Linked DNA regions of Homo sapiens: all the other regions are linked to region 4. The links are contacts of gene promoters, found by promoter capture Hi-C in blood cells and fetal thymus (Javierre and others, 2016). All regions are on one chromosome and are shown on one strand. The core of a region is centred on a gene start or on the middle of the fragment in contact, and the rest is flanking DNA. Distances in the headings are between cores, read along the strand shown. Region 1 overlaps BEST3 (bestrophin 3). Region 2 holds the start of LRRC10 (leucine rich repeat containing 10). Region 3 overlaps LOC105369823 (a long non-coding RNA gene). Region 4 holds the start of LYZ (lysozyme).

What was found. The method cuts DNA at HindIII sites, captures the fragments that hold promoters and counts their contacts. A CHiCAGO score of 5 or more calls a contact.
Region 1: a fragment that was not itself captured here is called in contact with the fragment with the promoter of LYZ in region 4 in 2 of 17 cell types (erythroblasts and activated CD4 T cells); the score reaches 5.4 in erythroblasts.
Region 2: the fragment with the promoter of LRRC10 here is called in contact with the fragment with the promoter of LYZ in region 4 in 11 of 17 cell types (activated CD4 T cells, naive CD8 T cells, non-activated CD4 T cells and 8 more); the score reaches 8.8 in activated CD4 T cells.
Region 3: a fragment that was not itself captured here is called in contact with the fragment with the promoter of LYZ in region 4 in 9 of 17 cell types (activated CD4 T cells, naive B cells, total CD8 T cells and 6 more); the score reaches 8.3 in activated CD4 T cells.

The regions. Positions count from the first base shown.
Region 1 is chr12:69,659,256-69,662,700 of GRCh38, reverse strand. The region is part of intron 9 of BEST3 (bestrophin 3); the gene reads left to right. All of the region lies in intron 3 of LOC105369823 (a long non-coding RNA gene), which reads right to left. Among named protein-coding and RNA genes, the nearest start is that of BEST3, 38 kb to the left of the region's middle. The HindIII fragment of the contact is 968 bases long and covers 1,520-2,487 here.
Region 2 is chr12:69,608,900-69,612,386 of GRCh38, reverse strand. LRRC10 (leucine rich repeat containing 10) reads left to right here and starts at 1,480. Exons shown (of 1, transcript NM_201550.4): 1 at 1,480-3,487. The coding sequence starts at 1,549. The coding sequence ends at 2,382. The HindIII fragment of the contact is 9,863 bases long and covers 1-3,487 here.
Region 3 is chr12:69,629,442-69,632,765 of GRCh38, reverse strand. All of the region lies in intron 2 of LOC105369823 (a long non-coding RNA gene), which reads right to left. Among named protein-coding and RNA genes, the nearest start is that of LRRC10, 20 kb to the right of the region's middle. The HindIII fragment of the contact is 8,060 bases long and covers 1-3,324 here.
Region 4 is chr12:69,346,954-69,350,376 of GRCh38, reverse strand. LYZ (lysozyme) reads right to left here and starts at 1,996. Exons shown (of 4, transcript NM_000239.3): 1 at 1,833-1,996; 2 at 105-269. The coding sequence starts at 1,968. The HindIII fragment of the contact is 11,988 bases long and covers 1-3,423 here.

The DNA.
Region 1 (3,445 bases), core at 754-3,253, 310 kb before region 4:
TTCAAAATTTTAAAGAGCTCCTTCTGGCTAGGGGTTGAGGAATTTATTTAAGACGTATTTGGTACTATGAAACTTTGTCAGAAATAATAATTTCTACTTATCTATCTTTATTCGAAAAGTTCTACGAATATGTAACATGATTTTTTAGTAATTATACAAACATGCAAATGTACTTAATGTGCACAAAATATTTAGGGTTATACAGTAGGTCAGAAATATTTTTAGTGATATTAATTCAAATATACCAAAATACATATTTTAGTAAGTGAAGACTTTATTAAAGTGTGGTTAAATATACTTCTATGTTGATGATACTTAGTAATCCTTTTTAGTCAACTATATTCAAATATTTTAGCTTTACAAGAAAATACGTAGTCTGATACATACAATTGCATGCTTATATTACAAACTACCAAAAATATCTCAAATTCTGAATTACTAACTTCAACAAAAGTGTATTCTGGGAACATTGATTTTTCACTTAATGTACCAGAAAGGAAGGAGAAATGGAAACTTCCAAGGAGATGAATGTGCATTAAGTTTATAATTTTAGAACTTACTCAAGGATTCTTTCATACTGTGATGTGAGGTCACCATGGGCAATCAGTTTTCATCTTTAAATGGTATCAGATGTGTACATGGATTGATTTCCTTTTTTAACAAAATTCCTATAGAATATAACAATATTAAAGAGGGAACTTTAAGTGAACCCCCACTTTTGGCCATAACTTCTTTTTGTGTCAGCCAGCAAGAGCCAAGAGAACATAACCAGGGTGGTAGGATGTAGCTAGATAAGCCTCTTTAAAGGCACAAGAGGCCACTTCTTCAACCAGATTTGCCAAAGCCCTTGGTTCAATGACCAGATAGGCCAACACGGGTAGTAGTGGGGTCATCAGCCCTAAATGCAGCTTTCTGGGCTACCTTCTAGGATGCTCTGGAGCTTGGAACTGTCCACCTGAAAGAGGGTTGAGGGAGGCTGGATGAATACAATATTTGGTCCACTGGATTTTCCTCATAACCCTTAGCCCCACACCTCCCAGCTCAGAGGGAGGGTTGCCTTGCCCATTTTATAAATCCTTGGCTACAGCTTTGATGATGATTCTGCAGTGCAGATGGTTAAAAATAGCCGCATGCGCCTCAGATGGGTTTGAAGAGTACATTTTGCTTTGCCCATGAAAAAAATGCTTCTCCACACATGTCTCTGCCCTGATAGATTCTCAGGCAAATTATCGGCTCCCTCCAAGGCAGTCGCCTGACTGTGAGTACACTAGCAATTTGAAAACAATAAATCTGCAGTGAGAAGTAGAATTCATCATACTAAATATCATTTTCCTAAATTCCTCATTTCAATTCTGTTAAAAAGGCCTCTTATTATTCGAATTAAAATTGTCAAAATACCGCTTCAAAAGTAGAGCAGAGAAAGAGAGACAAGCATCATCCAGTTTTATCTTTCAATCTTTTTGAAGCTCTATATTTACCTAATCACTCTCGTGAGAAGGGGGTTGCTTTGCAAAAAGCTTTCTTTGGAGAAATGCATTAAATCCTTCAAGCAATCAGGGCTATTTTTGTCTTTCTATATTAGACACACCCCAACAAGTATGGCAGTCTGCTGACATCTTCATCAGCCTGTTTCTTGCCTCTTTGTTATGGCAGCAGAGGGTGAAGCATGTTCTTCTGCACCCCTGACCAGCCCAAGCATCTTTTAAAGTTTCTAATTAAATCATGGCTGCTTATGCCCTTGGATATTTGTCATTTGCAAGGGAAACCATGGGGCTGATGTTTGTGTAGGTATTCCATATGTATTTTGAAATTTGGGTTTTTTATTAACACTTGAGATTAAAATAATTTTAATCCAGACATCTACCTAACCTGTGGAAATAATGCATGCTCTCCCTTCTTCTGGACTCAACTATAACTAACCAGCCTGACTGGCTTAAGATAACCTTTTCTCTTTCTCCTTCTTTTACTCTTCTCCCTTTCAAAAATAGACCAATATGTGACACAACCGTTCTCATTCTCATGTTTTCTATATTTTTGTATTGATGGTTTCTATTGCACAATAAGTGTGTATTGCAGGGTTTGATGATGTTTGGAAAATGGCACAAAAAAAAACAATATTGAGAGGCAAGGTCAGGGCAGTCTGTCTCCACAATTTTCACCATTGGAGCAGACCTCTCTTCCTTCCCTCAAATAACCCAGCTTCTTCCAGTTCTTATATTTCCTCTTCACCCACCCAGTGCCCTATCATTAAATGGCTTATCATTAAATGGCTAAGTCATCCCTTTTGAAGGTGTTGTTAAGTGATATCTCCTAGGTGTAGTAACATTTTTAAAAGGACAATCTTGAAGAAGAAAAGGGAGTGACCTTCAGACACACATTATCATCTCCTCCAACCCTGTCTGAGAAGTCAATGATAACTTGGAAACCACTTCTGAAAGTTTGCCAGTCATTGACAGAGTCCTTTTTACATCTTCTACTTTCAAAGCTTTTCTACACAGGTCACCCCTTTTGAACTTTCAAACAACCTAAAAGGCAGGTAAAGGATAATTATCACCAGCTTACCAAGAATGATGCTAAGTCACAAGAGATTAAATGAGTCCCCAAAGATCACACAGCTGGTTGGTGTCAGCATAGACACAGCAATCCTGGCTCTGCAAGCTCTCAAAATAAATTATTTTTCCCACCACAGAGACAGTGCTCAAATTTTATCCCTGGAAACTGATGGCCGCATGACACTTTTCATGAATGTCCTCCTATCTCTAATTACCTGCCTCTCTCAGTCCAAATAAGTTCCAGAACATAAAACCTAGCTTTTTCAGCTGACTCTCCCTAATACATAGGAATATAATGAGGGTACTTTTATTCTATCGTATAATATTTCTGCTATTAGTTGGTTAAGTGGTATTATATTGAGCCTCAGGATTGTACTAACCCTAGACTAAGAGGACACTTTAAATATCAAATAAGGAGCATAAAAAAAAAAATAAAAGAAACTAAAATTTATACTCCAGCCTCCCATTTGGGAAATACTCTTTCAAACTATTCTAAGGCTGAGTGTGGTGGCTCTCGCCTATAATCCCAACACTTTGGGAAGCCAAGACAGGAGGACCACTTGAGGCCAGGAGTTCAAGACCAGCCTGGGCAACATAGGGAGACCCCATCTCTACCAAAAATAAAAAATTAGCCAGGCATGGTGGTGCACGCCCACGGTCCTAGTTACTTGGGAGGCTAAGGTGGGATGATCACTTTAGCCCAAGAGGTCAAGGCTACAGTGAGCCATGATTGTGCCACTGCACTCCAGCCTGGGTCACAGAGTGAGGCTTTGTCTCTAAATAAATAAATATATACGTATTCTATTTTAAACTATTTTGTTCTTAAAGCACAGCTTCTGCTGTCATATTGGGAATAGTGGCTACCAGAGAAAGGAGGAGATGAACAGTGTGTG
Region 2 (3,487 bases), core at 231-2,730, 260 kb before region 4:
AACATGCAGAAGGCTAGCTTGCTTCTCTTTCTTCTGCTTTTCTACTTATCTTTTGTCAAAGGCAAGTTTTTAAACTGTGGAAAGATATCATCTGATAAGAATGAAGACATGAGAAATTAGAAACCTGTAACCATTGCTGGTGGGTGTGTGTACTGGCTCAGATTTGGTGGGGTACAGAGGAGCCATCAATGAAAAACCTGTAAATGATGCATATCTATGATCCAGCAACACTTTTTTTTTTTTTTTTTTTGAGATGGAGTCTTGCTCTGTCGCCCAGGCTGGAGTGCAGTAGCGCAATCTCGGCTCACTGCAAGCTCCGCCTCCTGGGTTCACGCCATTCTCCTGCCTCAGCCTCCCAAGTACTTGGGATTATAGGTGTGTGCCACCACACCCAGCTAATTTTTGTTTTTTTTAGTAGAGATGGGGTTTTACCATGTAGCCTAAGCTGACCTCAAACTCCTGGGCTTAAGTGATTGGCTCACCTTGGCCTCCCAAAGTGCTGGGATTACAGGCGTGAGCCACCACACCTGGCCTGCTCCAGCAACACTTCTAAGGACGGTTTCTAAAGAAATGAGTGGATTGCTGCTCACATCTGTATGCACATGGATGTTTATAATAGTCATGCTTTGTAAACAACCTAGATGCCTAACCACAGAAAACTGTTTAAATTACTGCACATCCATGTAATGGAATACTATGCAGGGGTTTAAAATAATTGCATAGATATCTGCAAACATGAAAATATGTCCATGATACGTCATGATTAAAAAATAAGGTTCCTGGTCAAGTACCATGGCTCACGCCTGTAATCCCAGCATTTTGAGAGGCCAGGGCGGGCAGATCTCTTGAGCCCAGGAGTTCAAGACCAGCCTGGGCAACATGGCGAAACCTCATCTCTACAAAAAATACAAAAATTAGCTGGGCACGGTGGTGTGCACCTGTAGTCCCAGCTACTCAGGAGGCTGAGGTGTGAGGATTGCTGGAGCCAGGGAGGTAGAAGCTGTAGTGAGCCAAGATTGCACCACTGCACTCCCGCCTGTGTGACAGAATGAGACCCTGTCAAAAAAAAAAAAAAAAAAAGCTCCTAAAGTGCAATTTTAAAAAACAAATGATTACTTATAGCGAAAAGACTAGAGGACACATGCAAATGTGTACAGTATTTATCTCTGGGTAATAGAACTATGGGTGTTTTTCATTTTCTTCTTTTACACCTTTATGTAATGTGTTAATATTTTATCATTAGGGAAAAAAACAGCAAAGCTATTTTCAGCTTGAAATGAAAAAAGGTTGATAAAGGGGATTGGGGCTTAGGTGATTAAAGGCAAGCATGTGAGTCAGACATGGCCTCCCAGCCCCTGCCGGACTGTTGCGCTGTCGCCGGACACTCAAGTTGCTATCAGGAGCACTTTTCTCTGTCAAAGTGACTGGCTTTTGTCATGCAATCCCCAAGTTATAATGGGAGGGTAGGATAGGCCCCAGAGCAGTCAGCTGAGCCAGCCCCGCTCAGTGAGTCTGTCCTCTGGGGCTCGCCATGCCCCCAGCCTCCGCATGGGGAACACCATCAGGGCCCTCGTGGCCTTCATCCCTGCTGACCGTTGCCAGAACTATGTGGTCAGGGACCTCCGTGAGATGCCGCTGGACAAGATGGTGGATCTGAGTGGGAGCCAGTTACGCCGCTTCCCCCTGCACGTGTGCTCCTTCAGGGAGCTGGTCAAGCTCTACCTGAGCGACAACCACCTCAATAGCCTGCCTCCGGAGCTGGGGCAGCTACAGAACCTGCAGATTCTGGCCTTGGATTTCAACAACTTCAAGGCTCTGCCCCAGGTGGTGTGCACCTTGAAACAGCTCTGCATCCTCTACCTGGGCAACAACAAACTCTGCGACCTCCCCAGTGAGCTGAGCCTGCTCCAGAACCTCAGGACCCTGTGGATCGAGGCCAACTGCCTCACCCAGCTGCCGGATGTGGTCTGTGAGCTGAGTCTCCTTAAGACTCTGCATGCCGGCTCCAACGCCCTGCGTTTGCTGCCAGGCCAGCTCCGGCGCCTCCAGGAGCTGAGGACCATCTGGCTCTCGGGCAACCGGCTAACTGACTTTCCCACTGTGCTGCTTCACATGCCCTTCCTGGAGGTGATTGATGTGGACTGGAACAGCATCCGTTACTTCCCCAGCCTGGCGCACCTGTCAAGTCTGAAGCTGGTCATCTATGACCACAATCCTTGCAGGAACGCACCCAAGGTGGCCAAAGGTGTGCGCCGTGTGGGGAGATGGGCAGAGGAGACGCCAGAGCCCGACCCTAGAAAAGCCAGGCGCTATGCGTTGGTCAGAGAGGAAAGCCAGGAGCTACAGGCACCAGTCCCTCTACTTCCTCCTACCAACTCCTGAGGAGCTTCAGTTGCAAGTCAATGCCAAGGACCCAACTGCAGCATGTTCTGGAAGCCTCTCCATTGGAGTGGAAAGGATGGCTCTGGGTCATTTGGGAGTGGCTCTGCTAGTAGAGACTGATGGAGAGAGCCAGGTGGAATGCCATAAATCACACTGAGAAAATATTTCTGGCAAACAGCTCCTCTTCCAGAGGGGAGTTGTGTGCCAATGATGGCATGACAATCCAGAGATCATAACTTCTTTGCAAGAAAACAGCTTCTCCACACATGTATTTTGAAACACTGAAGAGCAAAAGGGGCTGGGACACTCTGAACTCCTGCACTCTCCAGAAGTGACTGGTCATGAAGCTCATGAGCTCCTCAAATAAGGTATTTGCCATAGAACTAAATATTCTGGTGGTCTGTCTCTTTGCAGGACATATTTTCTTTACTGTAAATGACCATAAACAGTATCAATGTATCACTGAGGCCACCGAAAAGGACATTTCTACCTAGGCAATCAGTCAGATTCACAGAAAAAAGTTGTTTGTTGTTGTAAAGGCTCAAGATGAAACTCTTTCCCCAGCAGTTTAGTGCCTGCTGAAAAGATCCCTGATGGACAATACTTCTTGGTGGACTCCAGCTGCCCCTTTTATTATTATTAGAGACAAGGTCTCACTCTGTTGCTAGGCTGGAGTGCAGTGGCACAATCATGGCTCACTGCAGCCCCGAACTACTGGGCTCAAGCCTTCCTCCCGCCTCAGCCTGCCCAGTAACTGGTACTACAGATGTGCACACCTGGCTAAGTCTTTAATTTTTTCGTAGAGATGAGGTCTTGCTATGTTGCCCAAGCTAGTTTCAAACTCCTGGGCTCAAGCGATGCTCCTGCTTCAGCCTCCCAAAGTGCTGGGGTTACAGGCATGAGCCACCACACCCAGCCTTCAGCTGTCACCTTAAACTTGACAGTGGCTCATGCTGATTTAGTTCATTTTCCCTAAAAGGTTTGTCCCAAGATCTGCTCCCAACAGTTGACTGTCACTGACAATGTTGGAAGTCATCTGGAAAAGAGAACCTCTGTGGTAATGTGGTCTCATTAAAGTCAAGCCTTGTTGTGATTCCTGTCTACC
Region 3 (3,324 bases), core at 361-2,860, 280 kb before region 4:
TGGCTCATGCCTATAATCCCAGCACTTTGGGAGGCCAAGGCAGGTGATCACGAGGTCAGGAGTTCGAGACCAGCCTGGCCAAAATGGTGAAACCCCGTCTCTACTAAAAATATAAAAATTAGCCAGGCGTGGTGGTGCGCATCTGTAATCCCAGCTACTCAGCAGGCTGAGGCAGGAGAATTGTTTGAACCCGGGAGGCAGAGGTTGCAATGCGCTGAGATTGTGCCATTGTACTCCAGCCTGGGTAACAAGAGCAAGACTCTGTCTCAGAAAAACAAGAAAGAAAGAGAGAGAGAGAGAGAGAGAGACCAGGAGTGGTGGCTCACGCCTGTAATCCCAGCACTTTGGGAGGCCGAGGCGGGTAGATCACAAGGTCAGGAGATCGAGACCATCCTGGCCAACACAGTGAAACCCCATCTCTACTAAAAATACAAAAAATTAGCCGGGTGTGATGGCGGGCGCCTGTAGTCCCAGCTACTCAGGAGGCTGAGGCAGGAGAATGGCGTGAACCCTGGAGGCAGAGCTTGCAGTGAACCGAGATGGCGCCACTGCACTCCAGCCTGGGCGACAGAGCGAGACTCCATCAAAAAAAGAAAAAGGAAAGAAAGAAAGAAAGAAAGAAAGAAAGAAAGAAAGAAAGAAAGAAAGAAAGAAAGAAAGAAGGAAGGAAGGAAGGAAGGAAGGAAGGAAGGAAGGAAGGAAGGAAGGAAGGAAGGAAGGAAGGGGAAGAAAGAAAGTAGGAAGGAAGGAAGGGGGAGGGGGAGGGAAGGAAGGAGGAAGGAAGGAAGGAAATCTTTTTCATTCTAAGTACCTTGGTTTGTGGCTCCATTAAATCTAAGAGATGTATAATTTTGTAGCCCTGGGACACGTACTTAGCTTCAGTGCTTTGGTTTTTTTGTTTTAAACTTCATTTTCAGTGACATCTCAGGCTTGATGCCATTTCTTATTAGGATGCCTTAGCCCAGAAATCCTCCCACGCCATGAACCTGTGATTCTGATACCTAGATTTTATTTCATCCAGCAGATATGTAGTGAGCACATGTGATGTGGTGAGCATTGGTCTGAATGCTGGAGATACACAGGGAACCAAAGAAACAAAGTCTCCTCACTGATGGAGCTTACACTGGAGGGTGGGGGACAATAAACACATCACTCAATAAAGTCTATAGCTTGGTAGATGGTGATAGTGCTCTGGAGAAAAACTAAGCAGGCTGGGTGAAAGTGAGCAAAGAATTTTTGTAAAAGTAGCTGAGGAGGACCTCATGAAGAATGGGATGTTTGAGCAATCATATAAAAGATGGGATAGGAAGTCACGCGGTATATGAGAAAGAGTGTTCTAGATAAAGGAGATAGTGCTCTAGGTCAGAGCAGAGGCTCTGAGTCAGGGGAACCATTTTCCAGTCATCAGATCCATTTGTGAAAGGAAAATAAATCTTAGAGCCCCAAAATCACTAAGCCAAAGGGAGAAGTCAAGCTGGAAACTGCTTAGGGCAAACCTGCCTCCCATTCTATTCAAAGTCATCCCTCTGCTCACTGAGGTAAATGCATATCTGATTGGAGAGGCTAATCAAAAACTCAAAAGAGGCCAAGCTCCATGGCTCACACCTGTAATCCTAACACTTTGGGAGACCTAGGTGGGATAGGAAGTGGATCCCCCCACTGACAGTGCTGGGTACATCAGATGACTTGAGGTCAGGAGTTCGAGACCAGCCTGGCCAAGGTGGTGAAACCCTGTCTCTACTGAAAATACAAAAATTAGCTGGGCATGGTAGCAGGCGCCTCTAGTCCCAGCTACTTGGGAGGCTGAGGCAGGAGAATCACTTGAACCCGGGAGGCAAAAGTTGCAGTGCTGAGATGGCGCCACTGCACCCCAGTGTGGGTGACAGAGTGAGACCCTGACTCAATTAAAGCAAACAAACAAAAAAACTCAAAAGAATGCAACTTTTTGTCCCTTATCTATCTATGGCCTGGAAGCCCCCTCCCCACTTTGAGTTGCCCCGCCTCTGCTTCCAATGGTCCGGCCTTTCCGGACTGAATCAATGTTCATCTTACATATATTGATTGATGTCTCATGTCTCCCTAAAGTGTGTGTGCAAAACCAAGCTGTGCTCGGACCACCTTGGACACACGTCGTCAGGACCTCCTGAGGCTGTGTCACTGGCATGTGTCTTTAACTTTGGCAAAATAAACTTCCTAAACTGACTGAGACCTGTCTCAGATAATCCGGGTTCACACATTCATTTGATATTAAAAGCCTACGTTTCTCCTGTTCATGAGAAAGAAAACTTGGTTTCTTCACCGATTCCTGATCCTTCACCTTGTGAAGATGGGATAGGAAGTGGATCCCCCTGCTGACAGTGCTGGGTACATCAGATCAAACACCATCCAGTTGTGCCAGGACAAAGGTCATCCAGCTCAAAGATGATTCTCTCAACCCTTATTCCATCATGCTAGTATTGCCAAGCTGTTTGTAACAAAGGTGAGAAAACAGCCCAGGAAGGAAGAAGCCCACGCACTGCAGTAGGGCTATCGGGGAAGTTTCAGAGTTCACCTCGGGTGGAGGTTTTGGCATCTAAACTGCAACAACTGGGCATGACAATCCTATCAGGCATCATACTCAACTCCGCCTGGATCCCCGAACCGGGCCCCACATACCTGTACACAAATCATCTGCTCCTGCCTCCCTTTCACATTTGGCAACCAGTATGTCCCACATGCTGTTCCAGGAGCAAGACATGCAATGATGCACATGACTGACAACACCCTTCTTTTGTGGCATTTATCCCCATTTGGGGGAAACAGCCAAAACCTGGTAAATGAGTGAACAAGATAATTTCACAGTGTAATGAGGGGTATAAGGAAAATCAACAGAGCAATGTGGTAGTCACCATTAGGGACAGAGGGGTGTCTTACTCAGATGTGATGGGGGCTTTGGAAGGCCAGGGAAGGCCTTCTGAGGAGCTGCCATTTGACCTGATAGTTGAGTATAAAAAGGGTTAGCCATCGGAAGGGTATACCAGATGGAAGGAGCAGTGAGGCCCTGCTGTGGGCAAGCGCTCCGTGCGTCTGACAAATAGATGTGAGTGCGTTTGAATCAAAGCCTTGGGGAGGTGGATGGAAGTGAGATCACACAGGCCTTGGCGTTCAGAGTAGGGAGTTCGGGTTTTATTCCAGGGGCAGTACGAAGCCATTGGAGTTCTTATGCCAGTTTCTATGACCTGATTTACCTTGTTTGTGCAGCACTCTGATTGCTGTGTGAAGAATGGTTTGGAAAGGTGTTAGTGGCTTGGACTGGACTATGGCTCTGGAGGTAGGGAGTGGGGG
Region 4 (3,423 bases), core at 747-3,246:
TAGTTTTTCTAGGTCCCTCATGAACCTTTCAAGGCTTTTTCATTTGTATTGAGTCTCAATTCTTGTAAGTATAACCAGATTGGTCAAATATTAGCTTGTCTTACCACTGCAGGATAAATGACAGGCATTAACTGCTCCTGGGGTTTTGCCATCATTACACCAGTAGCGGCTATTGATCTGAAATATCCCATAATCAGTGCTTCTGTCTCCAGCATTGTAGTTTGTAGCTCGTGTGTTGTAACCACTCTCCCATTTGGCCAAACACATCCCTGAAAAGAACTTATTTTTAGTAATAAACAGCAACACTAAGTGACTTATACTCTATAGCAAAATCAGTTCTACTTAGCTACTTCTATTTTACTGATTTGTTTTATAAGTATAAAGATTTACTTATAAAATATCTTAGCACTTTAGTGTTAAGATAAGGGACTTGTAAGAGAATCCTTTTGTAATGCAAATCATCTTGTAACACCAACGAACAATATAACATACTTTTAAAATATTAAAATACATGTTTGTTCCATTGCTTTTACCCTTCCCGTGCTCCCATCCCTCAGGCAACATTCAGCCAAGAACAGAAAAATCAACAGAGCTGTTGAGTAGATTTTGTAAATTCATAGCAGATACATAGGCTGATGGAAAAATGCTTTTTTTAATCAGAAAAACATAAGGATTTTCTGATAGAAATTTTCTTATAATATCTAAAGGTGAATTTGGATATCAAGTTAGAATCTTGAAAACAAGACTATTCCGTGATTTCATCCCTTCACTCATTCATTCAAAAATAGCTATTGAGGGGAAATGTCTGAATTCAATCTGAAAACTACAGAGATTATTACATCGACAACTATGTACTAAACTATAAAATAACTTTTCCTCATGGCACATCTTGAATTGTGTGGGAGAAAATGAAAGATAGTTAATCAAGTAGAGTAGATAAAAATAATAAAACATTTCATGCTGAGTTTCTGGGATCCTATACAAAGAGTGACTGAAGGGAACTAGGTTCCTACTGCTCTTGTGTAGGGAATTCAATATATTCTTTAAAAACATCACTGTTAAAAATCCCATGTCGGCTGGGTGCAGTGGTTCACACCTGTAATCCTACCACTTTGGGAGGCTGAGGTGGGCAGATCATTTGAGGCCAGGAGTTCAAGACCAGCTTGGCCAACATGGTGAAACCCCATCTGTACTGAAAATACAAAAAATTAGCTGGGTGTGGTGGTACACACCTGTAGTCACAGCTACTCAGAAGGCTGAAGCACGAGAATCACTTGAGCCCAGAAGGCAGAGGTTGCAGTGAGCTGAGATCATGCCACTGCACTCCAGCCTGGGCCACACAGTGAGACTGTCTTTAAAAATAAAATAAAATAAAATAAAAATAAAAATAAAAATCCCACATCACGGCAGGGGACTTGAAGACAAGAAAAATACTGCATCACTCTAGGCTCTCAGAGCCCAAGTTCAAAATGGGAAATAACTGGAGTCACATACCAAGGACTTGAGAGAGCTCTGCCAGGTCCTCAAATGTATCTTTCAGTCAGCTTACATGTGCCATTGAATCTCAGGCACCCAGCAAACTTCCTAGCACTAGAACAGTACAACAGGTCCTGTTTTACTTAGAATGGAATTTTCCCCTGCCATGCCCGTATTCCTTTATCGGGTATCTCTGGTTATAAAGAACCAAACTGATGTTTTTAGCCATTGTAAGTATACAAACCCACAAAGAAATAAAACATCTATTCACTCAAAGCCCCTTCTTCTTCTTCCTTCTCTCCTAGTGTCTGTTCCATACGTAGCTAATTCTCTGGAATTATGGAGAGTAGACTTACAGTTTGCTAGGCTGATTCCCCTGTAGCCATCCATTCCCAATCTTTTCAGAGTTCTGGCCAACTCACACCTTTCAAAGACCTTGCCCTGGACCGTAACAGAAAGGAGGACAAGCCCCAGAACAATGAGAGCCTTCATGTTGACTGCTAGGTCAGAGTGCTAGGCTGACCAGGGTGAGCTGGCCCCAGTATTTAACATCTTTTAACTTCCTTCTTCCCCTTGTGGTTTGGGGGCTCCACCCTTTCAGTTGTGTGGAAAACAGGAACTGTCTATTGATCCACTGACTCTAAAGAGATTTTTTTAATGCTTGAAGAGAGATATGCTGATGTCCTAAGAATTAGTCTACAGGAAAATAATGAAATGGAATTGTTTAAAGTACTGGCTCTGGAAGAATTGGGGCATAGCACTACTTCCAAGACAGGAACTTTCTTCTGTTTGATTATGAATTTGAGCAATTATAAAGAAAAAAATGACTATTTTGTGCAGCTTAAAATGAGCTGTGATTTTTGAGTAACATTCAATTTTGTGAAATTGTTTTGTATGCATTCACTTTTTTATATTTATCTTTTTTACTTAAAATTATTTTACATATCTTTTCCACAAAATGGACATGACACATGTGCCTGTTGTCTTAATGGGTGTATAGTGTGACACCACGTTGCTCAGCTAGTTTCTTACTCTAGACTCTTTTTGTTACTATAGCAAATTTTTTATTATTATAAATCAGTGTTTTACTATTATAAATAAGGTTCATGTGAACAACTTTACCAACTACCTTTTTTTTTTTTTTTTTGAGATGGAGTCTTACTCTGTCACCAGGCTGGAGTGCAGTGGCGCAATCTCAGTTCATTGCAACCTCTGCCTCCCGGGTTCAAGCAATTCTCCTGCCTCAGCCTCCCAGGTAGCTGGGACTACAGGCATGTACCACCATGCCCAGCTAATTTTTGTATTTTTAGTAGAGACAGGGTTTCACCATGTGGCCAGGATGGTCTGGATCTCTTGACCTCGTGATCCGCCCGCCTCGGCCTTCCAAAGTGCTGGGATTACAGGTGTGAGCCACCACATCCGGCCTACTTTACCAACTACTTTTCACAATACTTTGCCTCCCCTTTCCATATTAGAACATAAGGGGTCATTAGAAAGCAACAGCATTTTAAAAATAAAACCTACCCAAACATATATCCAACTAAATGCTACCTTTGAAAATAGCAATCTCAGGAGGCTGTGCACAGCTTTTAAAACAATGCTACCAGAACTCAAAAAGAACTGCACTTCTGTATCTGCCTAAGAGGACAGATTCTGAGCCACACAAAGTGTCATCACTTTGTAGTTACCCTTATTTTTCATCAGTGGCCTCTAAAGATTACCAGATTTGGTTTTAAATGACAGTTCAAGGACCCTGTTCAAAAATCAAGAATAATCTCATTTTTCAGGCTAGGCCTAATTTTGATTCTTCAATAATAAATAGGGCCAGGTGCAGTGGCTCATGCCTGTAATCCCAGCACTTTGGGAGGCTGAGGTGGGTGGATCACCTGAGGTCAGGCGTTCAAGACCAGCCTGGCCAACATGGTGAAACTCCGTCTCTACTAAAAA